Regions from separate parts of the Homo sapiens genome. Here region 1 is linked to region 2. Evidence: promoter capture Hi-C in human tissues and cell types (Jung and others, 2019). All regions are on one chromosome and are shown on one strand. The core of a region is centred on a gene start or on the middle of the fragment in contact, and the rest is flanking DNA. Distances in the headings are between cores, read along the strand shown.

Evidence for each region. Contacts are between HindIII fragments. The study calls those that stand out against the background at their distance.
Region 1: a fragment that was not itself captured here is called in contact with the fragment with the promoter of GREB1L in region 2 in 1 of the 25 tissues and cell types used here (IMR-90 fibroblasts).

The regions. Positions count from the first base shown.
Region 1 is chr18:21,487,348-21,494,533 of GRCh38, reverse strand. GREB1L (GREB1 like retinoic acid receptor coactivator) reads right to left here. Exons shown (of 33, transcript NM_001142966.3): 19 at 4,183-4,522. Among named protein-coding and RNA genes, the nearest start is that of GREB1L-AS1, 40 kb to the right of the region's middle. The HindIII fragment of the contact is 5,281 bases long and covers 709-5,989 here.
Region 2 is chr18:21,239,089-21,246,497 of GRCh38, reverse strand. GREB1L (GREB1 like retinoic acid receptor coactivator) reads right to left here and starts at 4,266. Exons shown (of 33, transcript NM_001142966.3): 1 at 4,105-4,266. GREB1L-DT (GREB1L divergent transcript) reads left to right here and starts at 3,770. Exons shown (of 3, transcript NR_183513.1): 1 at 3,770-3,888; 2 at 5,163-5,221; 3 at 5,491-5,823. The HindIII fragment of the contact is 24,686 bases long and covers 1-7,409 here.

The DNA of each region.
Region 1 (7,186 bases), core at 2,100-4,599, 250 kb before region 2:
TGTTTTAAAATAGACTGGTACTTCCTTTGCTAAGCACAAAATAGGATAAAAAGAAAGTCACCAAGCAAAAGACAATAGGGTTTGATTGGTGATTTGCTAATGCCTAGAAAAGGCTCAATAAAGAAAAGGCTCAATAAAGAAAAGCCAGTCTTTAGAAATAAACATTCCCACAATCACTTCAAATAAAATTTCTATAATTTGTAAAACTGGAAGAAGCTTAACCATTCTTAGGCTTTTACTTGTTGTCCAATCTTTTATTATATATGTGCATACTAAGGGGAAATAGGGAATCTACGTAACTGTTCACAAGTTTCACAGACTTCCCGTGTTTTAGAAAAATCAATGTGTCAAAAAGATTTTTTTAATGCTAGAAGAAAAATTCTCTGTAAAAATTTAATTTTCCATACCATTTCATGTCAGGGGGAACCATAACATTGTCTCATTTAAAGCAAACCATTCTGGAATAGAAATCACTTTACTGATCACATTCACACTGGACGCATGGTATCCCTGACACTGGGTTTCTCCCTGAATGTGTTTTATCTCCCAGAACTGTCTCTATAGAGGTCATAGCTTTACCAGGAAGAGGTCAGGTTTATATTGATGGAATAAGAGTTAAAATGTTTTACTGTATGAGGACTTTTTTTTTTTTTTTTTTTTTTTTTTTTGAGACAGGGTCTCACTCTGTCACCCAGGCTGGAGTACAGTGGTGCAATCTTGGCTCATGGCGACCTCCACCTCCCGGGTTCAAGCGAATCTCCTGCCTCAGCCTCCTGAGTAGCTGCGATTACAGGCACCCACCACCACACCTGGCTAATTTTTGTATTTTTAGTAGAGATGGGGTTTCGCCATATTGGCCAGGCTGGTCTTGAACTCCTGACCTCAAGCGACTGCCCGCCTCAGTCTCCCAAAGTGCTGGGATTATAGGCGTGAGCCACTGCACCTGGCCTATATGAGGATGTTTATTTTCAGATTAGTAGTCAAATCTCACTTTTACTCTTGACCAACCACAGCTAGCCAAACCCACTATAAAATGCTTTTCCATCACATTGCTCCTTCTGATGACTGATGGCTGCAGTTCTCCTGTGCATCAATCAGGCCCTCAAGATGACATTGCAGAAGCACTTAACACAAAAGATGGGGTGATCATTGAGTTCAAGGATAATACAAGGCTTAAGAACAAGGACATCTAATGAAAGCTTCACCTGCCTTCTGGAGGAACTGACTTAAACTTTGTATCCTTCCAAAGGGGTCATCATCAGTATAAGTTAACCACAATACATAACAGGATAATTAGGGGTAAGCACAAAAATAAGATCACATAATAGAAGTAGTGTTGGATTTTACCCAAAAGTAGAGATAGAAGGCACAATCTTGCCATCCTGAAAATGGTGAAGGAGGTTGATAACTTAGAAATAAATGAGTGAGCCGCAATCTACTTGACAATTCAGTCTTGCTTACGATGTGAACATCCCAACATGATCTCATATTTTTACTCCCACACAAATACAGAGTATAAAAAGGACTGATGTGATCCAGTGATTTTGAGAATTTGGGACTTGTTTATTTTTATATATTTTTAAGAGACAGGGTCTCACTCTGTTGCACAGGCTGGAGTGCAGTGGTGGGATCATAGCTCACTGCAGCCTCAAACTCCTGGGCTCAAGCAAACCTCCTGCCTCAGGCTCCCAAGTAGCTGGGACTACAGGCATGAGCCATCACAGCAGCCAGAATATGGGACACTCTTATACGTACTTGTTGCCTGGCAGCTACTCATACCAATTGAGGAAGATGTCACTGCCTTGAGAAGTCGTAACTTGAGGCCCCCTTCGTTTAGGGCACAGTGATTGTCAACTAATGTGCCTCTGAAAGCCCTGCAGGTGATTCTGATGAGCTAGCAGCCAGGTGAAGAACCTCAGGCCTTGACTGTGGTTTTCCAACAGTGGTCCAGAGGGGTAAATTATTTAGGACAGACTGATTTATACTGACTTAGTGACTGGCCCTTCTGAACACATGATTAAGACTCTCTAAGTAGCTTCACTTAATCAGTGTCAACAGAGACCAGGAGAAGACCCAGCAGCCTCACGTGCATTTAGGTCATCTCTGGCAACAGATGTGGGAGACTTAGCATGGTGCTGCTGATTGTCCGCCTTTCCAAATTCTTTTTCTTTTTCTTTCTTTTTTTTTTGAGACAGAGTCTTGCTCTGTCGCCCAGGCTGGAGTGTAGTGGCACAATCTCGGCTCACTACAAGCTCCGCCTCCCGGGTTCACGCCATTCTCCTGCCTCAGCCTCCCGAGTAGCTGGGACCACAGGCGCCCGCCACCATGCCTGGCTAATTTTTTGTATTTTTAGTAGAGACAGGGTTTCACCGTGTTAGCCAGGGTGGTCTTGATCTCCTGACCTTGTGATCCGCCCGCCTCGGCCTCCCAAAGTGCTGGGATTACAGGCATGAGCTACCGTGCCCAGCCTCCAAATTCTTCATCATTAGCAATATTCAAATGGTCTCAAGCCCGTAATTCATGTCTCCATGAATTATACTGTAAGAAGCGTTTCCGGAGTTTTGTTATTCATCCTAGGAATTCCACTGTAATGTAGTCTATGACTATAACATAAAATTGTGAACGTGTATCTATATATGAAACATAAATGTTACAACTTCTAAATTTAGGAGTTTCTATTTTTTGGACAATTTTATTTGTTCCAATTGCTTATTAAGCTAATACAAGATATTTTGTCTGCATTTTGGATTATTCAATTTAGGTTAGCTAACTGAACACAAGAAGAAGATTTACATCTCCAGAACAATTTTTTTTTTTTTTTGAGACAGAGTCTCGCTCTGTCGCCCAGGCTGGAGTGCAGTGGTGCGATCTTGGCTCACTGCAAGCTCCGCCTCCTGGGTTCACACCATTCTCCTGCCTCAGCCTCCTGAGTAGCTGGGAATACAGGCACCCGCCACCACACCTGGCTAATTTTTTTTTTGTATTTTTAGTAAAAACGGGGTTTCACCATGTTAGCCAGGATGGTCTTGATCTCCTGACCTCCTGATCTGTCTGCCTCAGCCTCCCAAAGTGCTGGGATTACAGGCATGAGCCACTGCGCCCAGCCCAGAACAATTTTTGAACACTAAATAATCATCCCCAAATTAGAACTCTTAGAGATTATACAACCCAATTCTCTCATTTTGCAGATGGGAAACCGCAGCCCAGGGTGAAAATGCAAATTCCCCCATGACTATGTGCCTTCTTTTCATAAAATTTGTGCTGAACCAGATTTTCCTTAACCCAATTTAGCTCAGCATTTAATGTATAGGGCGCAGAAACAAGTTGGTCTAACTCAGACATACAGTAGCTAGCTCAGTTCCATACCGACATGTAGGTGGATATTTGATTAAATGCTTTCTAATGGCTAGGCCCCACTGGATTACAGGCCCAGAAAAACCGAGTCAGGCATAAGGTAGGGAGTTAGGTTAGTTGGCTGAGGGTTCTACTCCTCCCACCCTGATGCTTGACAGGAGAGGAAGGGGAGAAGCAGTCAATCACTGGCCGTGCAGAGGGAGCAGTGAGGGACTCAGTCATGCACTAAATTCTTCTGTAGGGCGCCTGGCAAAGTCTCAGTCCAGCCAAAGCCTTGGGGCTGAGGGTCAAAGCAAGTAAAAAGAAACAACAAACTGCTGAGGAATCCACATGCAAGAGGGCTAGGAACAGTTCTGAGTACTGAAGATGAAACAGAATACTTTACCGACTCTAGACATGAGCTCACAGAGAGGCTAGATGAACAGAAAAGAATTAGTGAGTTGAGGATACTTAAAACATTACCCCACAGAGGTCTGAGAGGATAACTTACCTTTTTTTCTCAGAAAACAGATGGCCATGGGCTACATGCATCTTGAACAAGGCCAATAAACATGGGGTCAAATTGGGTCATCTCATTTTTTTGCACCTGCAGTTGGAGAGCATGGAAGACCAACTGCATGCACTAACTGCATGCTATAAAGGGCTGGGCAATCTTTACAAACTGGTTCTAATTAAGAAAGTGAATATGTCCCTTAATTTAGCCTTATCATTGTCATGGAATCACACATGTGATTCTATTAAACTCAGGCCCCTGAGCCACCTATGTAGGATTCCTAGAAAAGAGAAACAAATGGTATTTTAAAGGAGAAATGTCTGTCCATTGCTAACCTTTAATCGCGCCACAAAGTGAGTTGCAACACTGAGTTCGGTGGCCGGGTTCCCAAGGATGATCTCAAACCGATACTGCAGACCCAGTTTGTCGCGCACCTCCTGTAGCCGCTCCTTGGCTAACATCGCCAGCTGCACCGAGGGCACCCTGATAATGAGCATGTGTCCCCTCCCACTTTTGTTTTTGCCTGGGGAGCTGATGAGGTCATCCATAATGCTGAGTGTTTCTGGTGTGCTGTGGTCGCGGAGTGACGCCATGGTGGTGAGAGCCATCAGGGCCTCAGAGTACTGCTGGATGAGAAGATAGCAGCGGACGACCATGCTGTGCAGCCTGGGGTACCTTCAACAGAAAACAAGGCACTAGCACTCAGGCAGCAGGGCCAGCTGGGAGCAGCAAGGCCTGTGCAGTAAGAATGCAGATTAAGCATGGTGGGGAAGGGGCTACTGATCAGTGTGGTGGGGCTTTAGTTCTAGAATGACCTGGGATCCTACATCACTGGAAGGAAAAGGTTGAGCTTCCAAAGCATGTGAATCAACCTGTTGGGATAAGTACAGCACAGTAAAGGGGTTTAGAGATTGTCTAGAAACCTCTTCTCAAAGTATGGTCTACAGACCACCAGCAGCAGCAGCACCTGGGAGCTTGTTAGAAATGCTCAATCTCCCCACCCCAGACCTACTAATCAGAATCTGAAGCTTAACAAGACTCCCAGGGAATTGCATGCACGTTAAATTCTGAGACACGCTGGTCTATTCCATTCATTGCCAGCATAGTCATCATGGATAATTCCTGGATCCTCACCTCTTGCTGGTGGTATTGGGTTAGAATGGCAGCACTGTCCACTTATTTCTCTGATATATAAGATTACAATACAGGAAACTGAGGCATTAATGTAATATCTGTCGAGTATTAGACATAAAAAGGGTAATTATTACTACTAATCTGAGGTCAGCCTCACAGATAGCAATTTCTATCTTTCCATAAACTGTTCCTTGGTGCTGGAGAAACTTGGAGCTGACTGGAGAAATAGCACCCCCTAGTGTTGTAGCCTCATCACCTGAGACCTGGCTCCGTCAAGGGAGCCAAGCAAATCTGAGCCTGGTAGCAGCAGCAGCCTTTGGTACCATTTTCCCCTAAGCCTGGACTGCCAGGGAAGAGGATCCCTTTGTTAAAATCGGCAGTTTTTACAATTATAGGAGGTAGAAAACAAATCTCTCCTTTTGGTGCTACGCCTCAGCCAGGCCTGATGACAAAATGAGTACGAATGGGCAAAGAGGACCCAGTTACAGGCATGAAGAGCTGCTAGTCAAGAAAGCAGGTGCTTGGCTACCCTGAGCACACTGCCCAGCAGTACTTCTGCTGCTGAATAAAAATAAAATTTTTTAAAAAAGAAAGTAGGCTGGGCGCGGTGGCTCATGCCTATAATCCCAGCACTTTGGGAGGACGAGGTGGGTGGATCACTTGAGATCAGGAGTTCGAGACCAGCCTAGCCAACATGGTGAAACCCCATCTCTACTAAAAATATAAAAATTAGCTGGGTGTGGTGGCGGGCGCCTGTAATCCCAGCTACTTGGGAGGCTGAGGCAGGACAATCACTTGAACCTGGGAGGTGGAGGTTACAGTGAGCCGAGATCATGCCATTGCACTCCAGCCTGGGCGACGGAGTGAGAGTCTGTCTTAAAAATATAAAAAAGAGAAAAAGAAAGAAAGTAGGTGCTGGCAAAGTGGGCTCTGGGTCCAAGGTTGGCCAATGCTCTCATGGAGCCTGGTAGAATAAGGCTGGGGCTGTGCACTTTCTTTCTGGTTGCCATTTGGTAGCAATGCAGCCACCAGCAGCTGGGTAGGCTAATGGGGGATTTCACCTTTGTTCCATTCTATAATTCTACTTAAAATACAACAAGTGGTCCACTGGCCTTGCACAGAAAACCTCCAGGTCAAAGAAATGCCAATGACAGCTATCAAATGAATAACACATGAACACTTTTGAGGTGTTTTAGAACTGGAAAGGACCAAGATGCCCTGTATATGAACAACTCTGCCTTTTCTTTTTCTTTTTTCGAGACAGAGTCCCGCTCTGTCACCCAGGCTGGAGTGCAGTAGTGCAATCTTGGCTCACTGCAACCTTCGCTTCCCGGGTTCAAGCAATTCTCCTGCCTCAGCCTCCTGAGTAGCTGGGATTACAGGCATGCGCCCAGCTAATTTTGTATTTTTAGTAGAGACAGGGTTTCTCCATGTTGATCAGGCTGGTCTCAAACTCCTGACCTCAGGTGATCCGCCCACCTCAGCCTCCCAAAGTGCTGGGATTACAGGTGTAAGCCACTGCACCCGGTCTTTTTTTTTTTTGAGATGGAGTCTCACTCTGTCGCTCGGACTGGAGTGCAATGGCGCAATCTCAGCTCACTGCAACCTCCGCCTCCCAGGTTCAAGTGATTCTCCTGCCTCAACCTCCCAAGTACCTGGGATTACAGGTGCCCGCCACCACGCCTGGCTAATTTTTTTTTTTTTTTGTATTTTTAGTAGAGACAGGGTTTTACCACGTTGGCCAGGCTGGTCTCGAACTCCTGACCTCAGGTGATCCACCCACCTTGGCCTCCCAAAGTGGTGGGATTACAGGCATGAGCCACCGCGCCCAGCCCACTCTGCCTTTTCATAGAAAGAGAATGAGTTCAGGGGCAGAGAGAAGTTCAGCTGCTTGTCCCAGTTCATACAACTGATCAGAGACAAAGCTAGCTCTAGATTTTATCCAGCCTCTAGCAAGGTCTTCACACATTGCAAGGATTTAGCTGGCTGGGTAGAAATGAAGAAATCCTTCAGTTCAATAAATCCTGGGCTGGTCCCTTCAGGTATTCAGTAAGTCATAGCTACTATTAGGCTGGGGTGACTGGGTTGGAGGAAATAAGTATAGATAATCTATGTTTCAAGCTTAATGCTTTTTGCTGGGCCACGTAGAAAAGCCAAAGTTAGAATAAATGGTAACTTTGATATCTGGCATTTCTGTTTCATACT
Region 2 (7,409 bases), core at 3,017-5,516:
CTAAAGAAATGCAAAGCAAAAGAAAGGTATAAAATGTTACACTGATTAAATTAGTAACAATAATATGTTTTAAGATAACATAAGCACACACATAGATTGTTAATGACAGTATAAATTTATATAGTCCTTTTAGAAAGTAATGTGGAAATTACTGTAAATCTAGAAATTTCCTAATAAAAATAAGAGCTAACATTTATGTGTTTCATGTGTTATTGCTTTTTATCTTAACTTTAAAGAACTATTAATATAACCCATTTTACATCTTAGTAAGCTAAAGTTCTGAGAAAATAAATTACTTGTCCAATATTGCCAATGAGTACTAGAGCTAGGTTTAAACCCACAACCTCTAATTTTAGAACCCACCCATTTACAACTACATTATACTATCCCTCAAGAAAAAAAAGATCCTAAGGAAGTTAAGGGAAAAAGAAGAAAAGAAAAGAAATAAAGTTACATGTATAAGAATAGGCATTATAGGCCAGGCATGGTGGCTCACGCCTGTAATCCCAGCACTTTGGGAGGCTGAGGCGGGCAGATCACGAGGTCGAGATCGATGAGATCGAGACCATCCTGCAACACAGTGAAACCCCATCTCTACTAAAAATACAAAAAATTAGCCAGGCGTGGTGGCAGGCGCCTGTAGTCACAGCTGCTAGGGAGGCTGAGGCAGGAGAATGGCGTGAACCCGGAAGGCGGAGCTTGCAGTGAGTGGAGATCGCACCACTGCACTCCAGCCTGGGTGGCAAAGCAAGACTTCGTCTCAAACAAAACAAAACAAAACAAAACAAAACAAAACAAAAAAAGAATAGGCATTACATTTTTTATGCTGCAAAATCAAAAACAGGAAGGCTTAAGTTAATAATGAACATCCATTGCATAAACTTTTATAAAATTATTGTAAATAATGGGAAGTAAGCTATAGAAAAAATGTTTATAAAAAACAGGGTGAAAATTATCTGCAATATAAAACATTTGTAAAAATATTCATTCATATGGCAAGATTGGGAAGGGAGCTGGAAAAAATAAAAACCATTACCATTTTGAAGAATTTCACTACTGGTATTGAATTTTCTTTTGTTTCTGTCAGCTTCATTAATCAATCAATATTACTCTAAGTACCCTTACAAATATATTCTTCTAGTTCTTATTCTTAGGATCCCAAACAATTCCTACAGCGAATTTATAATTTATATTAGACTTATTCAAAATAATTACATATGTTTCATCAGCGGTGCTTTTAGAAAGCTTTAGCTTTCAGTATGAGATCTCTATCTTAACATCAACACTTTTTGCAATCATCGCTTACAGTGTACCTTTGAAATCCCTTAATTTAGACCATACGCAGTCACTAAAATCAGCTAATTTTTACTTTCACAACCTTACAATCACTCCTTAACTCCTGTCCCCATCATTAGCCCAAAGGCTGCAGGTACTTTACAAATTAGAAGTTTCCTAATAAGAACATACTCCCTAGGTGAATATTTATCAAGTAACTAAAATATCTTAGCTATAAGGGATGTTCATAATCTAAACACTTCAGAGAAGTATAAATTAAATTATGTCAAGTCTCTTTCAAGTAGGTAAAGTTAATTTCCACTTTACCAAAAAGAAGAGTTTGGTAAGAGTAATTTTCCTAAAAATGACACTGTGGGCTGCGAGGAGAATTCACTCTCCTTAGCCACACAAGGTGACATGAGAGGCCCTCAGCCCGGTGTTTGGCCTCTATCAGCAACATAAACACACATTCTGTGGGTAAGGAGAGTAGCTGTTCTCCAATGACATCAAACTCGTAAGAGCAGGGATATAGTTTAAACATCTCTAACCTCCTCTTCATGAATCCACCATTCAGGAATGTTTTTTGTCGCCCCACTGTCTAACATCCACAGTCCAATGGTTATCTTTAGCCAGTTTTAGGACAACTATTTTAATCGTAGAACTCTGGAGTTCGAAGGACCCTTAAAAATCACATAGTTCAATTCCTTTATCTAACTGAGTGGGAAACAAAGTTTTCCAAAAAAAAGTTACGTCGTGTGGCGGGTTTGTGGCAAATCCAGGCCTAGAATTAAGAGATGCAACCAAACATCTGAAACTCGGCCTTCGTATTTATCCTTTACCACTAACATCTTTATATTATGTCATGTCAATGGGAGTATACACACGCCCTTTCAGTGTTTTCAGATACACACTGCGGTAGACAAAGTAAACTACTACAGTTCTCATTCTCTACTTCATAAAGAATTCCAAAATGGAGGAAAAATTCAATAAAGATTGCAAAAACCAGTGTAGGGAAACTGGTGTGTGTGCAGGAGGAGATATTAGTTTAATAGTTTTGCTTTCCACTGCATACTGTTCTAAGATTTTTAGCCCTCTAACTGATCTTCAAGGTAATAATTGTCCACATTTGGCTAAATAATCTCATGTCATCATGAGTGGGTATCAAGTTAATGGTCATCACCACGAATATATAGTTCAGTCTTATATTCAATCCCTTTCATCATCTATAATGTAATTCCATTTTAATAGACTTACGGAAAGATATACAAAAAATATACAACAGTGGCTGCCTCTGAGAAGGATGAAGGCTTGTATGGAGGAGAGGAAAGAGGGCTTAATTTACACTGTATACTCTTCACTGTTGTTTGAAATGTTTACCCTACTTATATATTCATTCATTAAACATTTTCCTCTTGAAATACATACCTATATGCATGTAACTGTATTACTAAATATTTCAACAATTTAATTTTTTCTCTTTTAAATAATTTTTCAGTATCATTCACAAAACCTCCTAGAAAATTTCAGCAAAGAGAAGAAACAACACAGTCACAACACTCAAAGCAGAGTTCCAGGATTTAAAGTCTAAGAACATATATAGATGAATGAGAGGTTTTATTAAGGGGGACTGAGTTCAAAAACCTTTTGTGGGAAAGCTCTTCCCTGTATTTAAACGGCTAGGTTTAAAAATGTGATTTAAGCAGGGATTCCCGCCTCGAGGCGGGGGGAGGCGGAAAAAAACACCTTACGGTGTGAAAAGCAGAAATTAAAATGTGGTTTCTATCCTCTCAGCCGGGGCCAGAGGAGTGGGTGGGGAGGATAAGGACCTTGGAACCGTCACGTTCACCGGAGAAAGGGGCAAGACTGAGGAGTTTCTCCAGGACCCGCAGCCTCGGTTAGAGGCAGCGGCAGTTCCGGGCAAACGAGTCGCGTTCGGGGACGTTCCTTGGACTCATGTAACTGAGAAACCCCACGCACTGAATCTCCACATGGAGTTTCCTCTTAATGGAGCTGGGAAGAGGGACGGCGGGAATGGATTTCCTTTAACGAGTCTCCCTCACCCTCCCCGGCCAGGGCGCACCTCACTCGCTGTCTGCTTGTGTCAGGGTCAGCTGTCAACACAACTCTTTGTGTCTCATTCGGAATAAGAGTGGTCCTCAGCCATGCACAGAAAAATGGACATGCTGGCCGGAAGACACGCGCGCCCGCTCGTGACGAAGTGACATTTGGTGTTGAGGAAAAAAACCCACAGACGCCGAGCGAGCGCCCAGCCACCTCTGGACGTTCTCAACTTTCCCAGGCTGAACTCCATCCATCCTCTCCCCGCCACCTCCGCGGCGCCCTACCTGTCGCCCGCCCGCCTGCCCGGCACCCCCTCACTGCCCCTGGGCTCGGGGAGACGAACCAGGTGCCCCCTCGCCGCCTCCGCCGGGGGACCCCGCGCTACTCGGCGCGCCGCAGCTCCCTCGTCCCACCCCCGGGCCGTCTCGCTCCCGCCACAAAGGCAGCGAGTAGAGCCCGGTGACAGGCCTTCGGCCTCTGGGCGCGGACAGCACGGCCGGGTCCCTTCGGTGGGCGACGCGAGGCGGCAGGGAAGGCAGGCACGGCTCCCAGGTTGGCACTGGCGCTCCCTCGCCACCCGCACGCGCTCCGCTCACACCCCCGCTGAGCTTCCCATCCCTCCGGAAAAGTCCGCTGCGGCGCTTCCCCGCGCGGCCAGGGCGTCCAGCCCGCCAAAGGGCAGCTCCTGCCGGTCACAGGCGAGCTCCCGCGCCCGGTTCGCGACCTCTCACCTCCTGCCCGCGCCCCGGAGTCCCCGCGGCCGCTCACCTGGCCCTAGCGGGGCGCGAGGGCAGAGGACCAGGGGGTGGCCCTCGGCTCGGCCGGGCTGGTCTCCCCACCCCCAGTGCCGTTCCCTGCGCCGCGCTGCGCTCCGCTGCTCCGGCCGCCCGACTCCGAGGTGCTAGCGCCGCCGGCGGCTGGCGTCTCTCTGGCAGGCGCGCGGTCCGCGCGCTCAGTTCCCCGGGGCGGAGCGAGGCGGCGGCCGCCGCAGCCGGAGGCGGATTCCTCAGGTGCTGCCCCTCCCGCCCGCCCTGGCCTCCGCAGCGGGGACCCCCGCGCCCCCTCCCCCCGCCCCGCCTCGCGCCTTCCCGCTGCCTCGGCGTCCGCGAGTGGCTTTTGGGGGTCCCTCGCCCTCTGTGAGGGTGGTGGGCGCGCATTTCTCCCCTACCCCCCTCCAACGACGCCCCCCGCCCAGCCTGTGGAGCCCTCGATGCGCGGTCCTCACGCCTCCATTCCCAAACCCCGCCGCACAGACGAACGCGCAGCCCCGCGGGGGTGTACAGGGGGTCGTGCGGGGGGGGGGTCTTCTGTGAGGGAGGGCTGCACCCCAGTGTGCTGACGCGCGAAGCCAGGAGGAAAAATTATTTCCCCTGGAGCCCGCGTTCATTCAGCCTGCTCTCGCCTCTGCGCAATTGCTTTCTCTGTTCACTGGACGGCGGCTGAAGAGCCCCAAGCGTGAACTCGGCCTGGGCAGTGGTGGCTCGGAAACCCTTGGCCTTTTGCATGAAGGGGGTAGGGTGGGGGCAGGGCGCGGACAAAACCAAACAAACCCGGGAGCTCCGGGCCCAAGCCGACTTTTGCACCTCCCGGAGGAGCACGCCCTCCGGCCCCGGGCCCCGGCTCGTCGGTAGCCTCCCGGGACCACGGGGACGGCTCCACCCCAGGGCAGCCGCGTCCAGCTGGCCCTGGGCCTTGACGGGTGCTGCGGGGAAAAGGTTCTTGAGAGATGCTGCGGCCCGGTAGAGAGATTTAGCTCCACTTTTCACAGCTGGAGGCTTTTGTTATTAGAGATGCGGCTCCATTTTTAAAACTAATTGTTGCCACAGATAGGCGACTACATCTCTGGAAGCAGCAGCTCCATGCTGGATGTGGTGGAAGAATCGAGGTAAGGAAAGGCTGATGTATTTTGAGTGCCTTTAGTGCAGTACAGCCCGGGGGAGCTCCCCGTGTGCGTGGGAGTGGGGAGGCAGCCGCGGCGCCCAGGCCCGGGTGGGTTGGAATCATTGTCAAGTGATAGGTACCATTTAAAGACATTGTCAATTAAACTAGTTCTCATACGATGTCCCAGTACTTTTGTTTGCTTGTCTTGCATTTTTCTTTTTTGCCATATCCGAAATACATTTTTTTCTTTCCTGTCACTTTTGATCCATGCAGAGGGAATGGACTGGAAGTTTGGAATCACCGGAAAATAACAAGGCATAGCTAAGCTGTGACTAGCAAGATAAACGATTTGTTCGAGGTTTGATTGTCCTTTCCCTCCTCCACTCGGAAGACATAGTTGTCTTTTTTTAAATCATGTTTTGTACCGAAATATTTTTATTTTATAATTGAATCCCTGTTGTTGGGCCTTTAAAAACCCATAGAAACATTGTTATGTGCCACGAAGGTGGGAAACACGGCTTTCTCAGTCATTGCTGTACTCCCACAATTCTGGGTCATGCACACAATACAGGTTTAGTAAATAAAATCCGTATGTTTTTGGCCCCACGCGGTGGCTCATGTCTGTAGTCCCAGCGCTTTTAGCCTGGGTGACAGAGACCCTGACTCAAGAGTGTGTGTGTGTGTGTGTGTGTGTGTGTGTGTGCGCGCGCGCGCGCGGGCGGGCTTTAAAATAACTACAACAGAAAGGTGCAGATGATTAGCAATAGCTAAAAGAATCCAAAGTCACTTAGTAAACTCATCATGAGAACTGGCCATACACGTGGAAAAGACAGTGCTGTAGAAACTGAAATTTTAAGTTCACCTGGTGAATATAAACTAAGCTCATAGAAGTTAAAGCAGGTGAGAATCTTTTGAAAAACTCAACCCATCACAAGGTCTGTAGAGTGTGTGGGGGTTGGGCAGAAGCAAAACACCTTCCAATTTAAAGATAAGGACACTGAACAAGGAGCCGCTTTAAAGTAAAACCACCAGTGCAGTTTTCTCTCTTAGTGCAAGGACCATTTGTTGAGTGCCAGGTACACTAGACCCTAGAAATGTGAAAGCAAATCTGGCAGTCACTCAAGGACCATAGTCTAATATTACAGGACTCTGGTATTCATTCTTCATCCATTCAACAGATATTGAGCACCTAATGTGAGTTAGACGGCACAATATATCAGTAGTAGTGGTGATTTGTCAGTAAACAAGGCAAGTCCCTAACAAGGGTAAAAGTGAGAGTAATCTATATATCCTGGTAGATTGAAAAGAGTTCAATGCCATCTTCATTAGATAACAAACTCCCAGCCGGGTACAGTGTCTCACGCCTGTAATCCCAGCCCTTTGGAGGCCAAGGCAGGTGGAACACTTGAGGTCAGGAGTTCGAGACCAGCCTGACCAACATGGTGAAACCCCATCTCTACTAAAAATGCAAAATTAGCTAGGTGTTGGTGGCACACACCTGTATTCTCAGCTACTTGGGAGGCTGAGGCAGGAGAATCGCTTGAATCCTGGAGGCGGAGGTTGGAGTGAGCCAAATTGCGCCATTGCACCCCCAGCCTGGGCAACAAGAACAAAATTCCGACTCAAAAAAAAAAAAAAAGATTTCACACTCCTGTGTCCTGAATTTGTGTTTCTGCCTTGTCTTCCCTTTGGGATTTCTATGTCCCTCAGCATGCCCAGTAGACCTCCATAATTATAAAAGATGATAGGGTTCAGAGTGAACATTCTGAAAAAAGGTCCCATAGTTTTGAATCCTGACTCCAGCCTGGTGACAGAGTGAGACTATGTCTCAAAAAGAAAAAAAAAAAAAGAAGATGCATTAGTGCCTGAAACACTTTTTTTTTTTTTTTTTTTTTTTTTTTTTTTTTTGAGACAGAGTTTTGCTCTTGTTGCCCAGGCTGGAGTGTAGTGGCATGAACTCGGTTCACTGCAACCTCTGCCTCCCAGGTTCAAGCGATTCTCCTGCCTCAGCCTCCTGAGTAGCTGGGATTACAGGTGCCCGCCACCACGCCTGGCTAATTTTTTGTATTTTTAGTAGAGACGGGGTTTCGCCATGTTGGCAGGCTGGTTTCAAACTCCTGACCTCTGGTGATCTGCTCGCCTCAGCCTCCCAAAGTGCTGGGATTACAGGTATGAGCCACCATGCCCAGCCC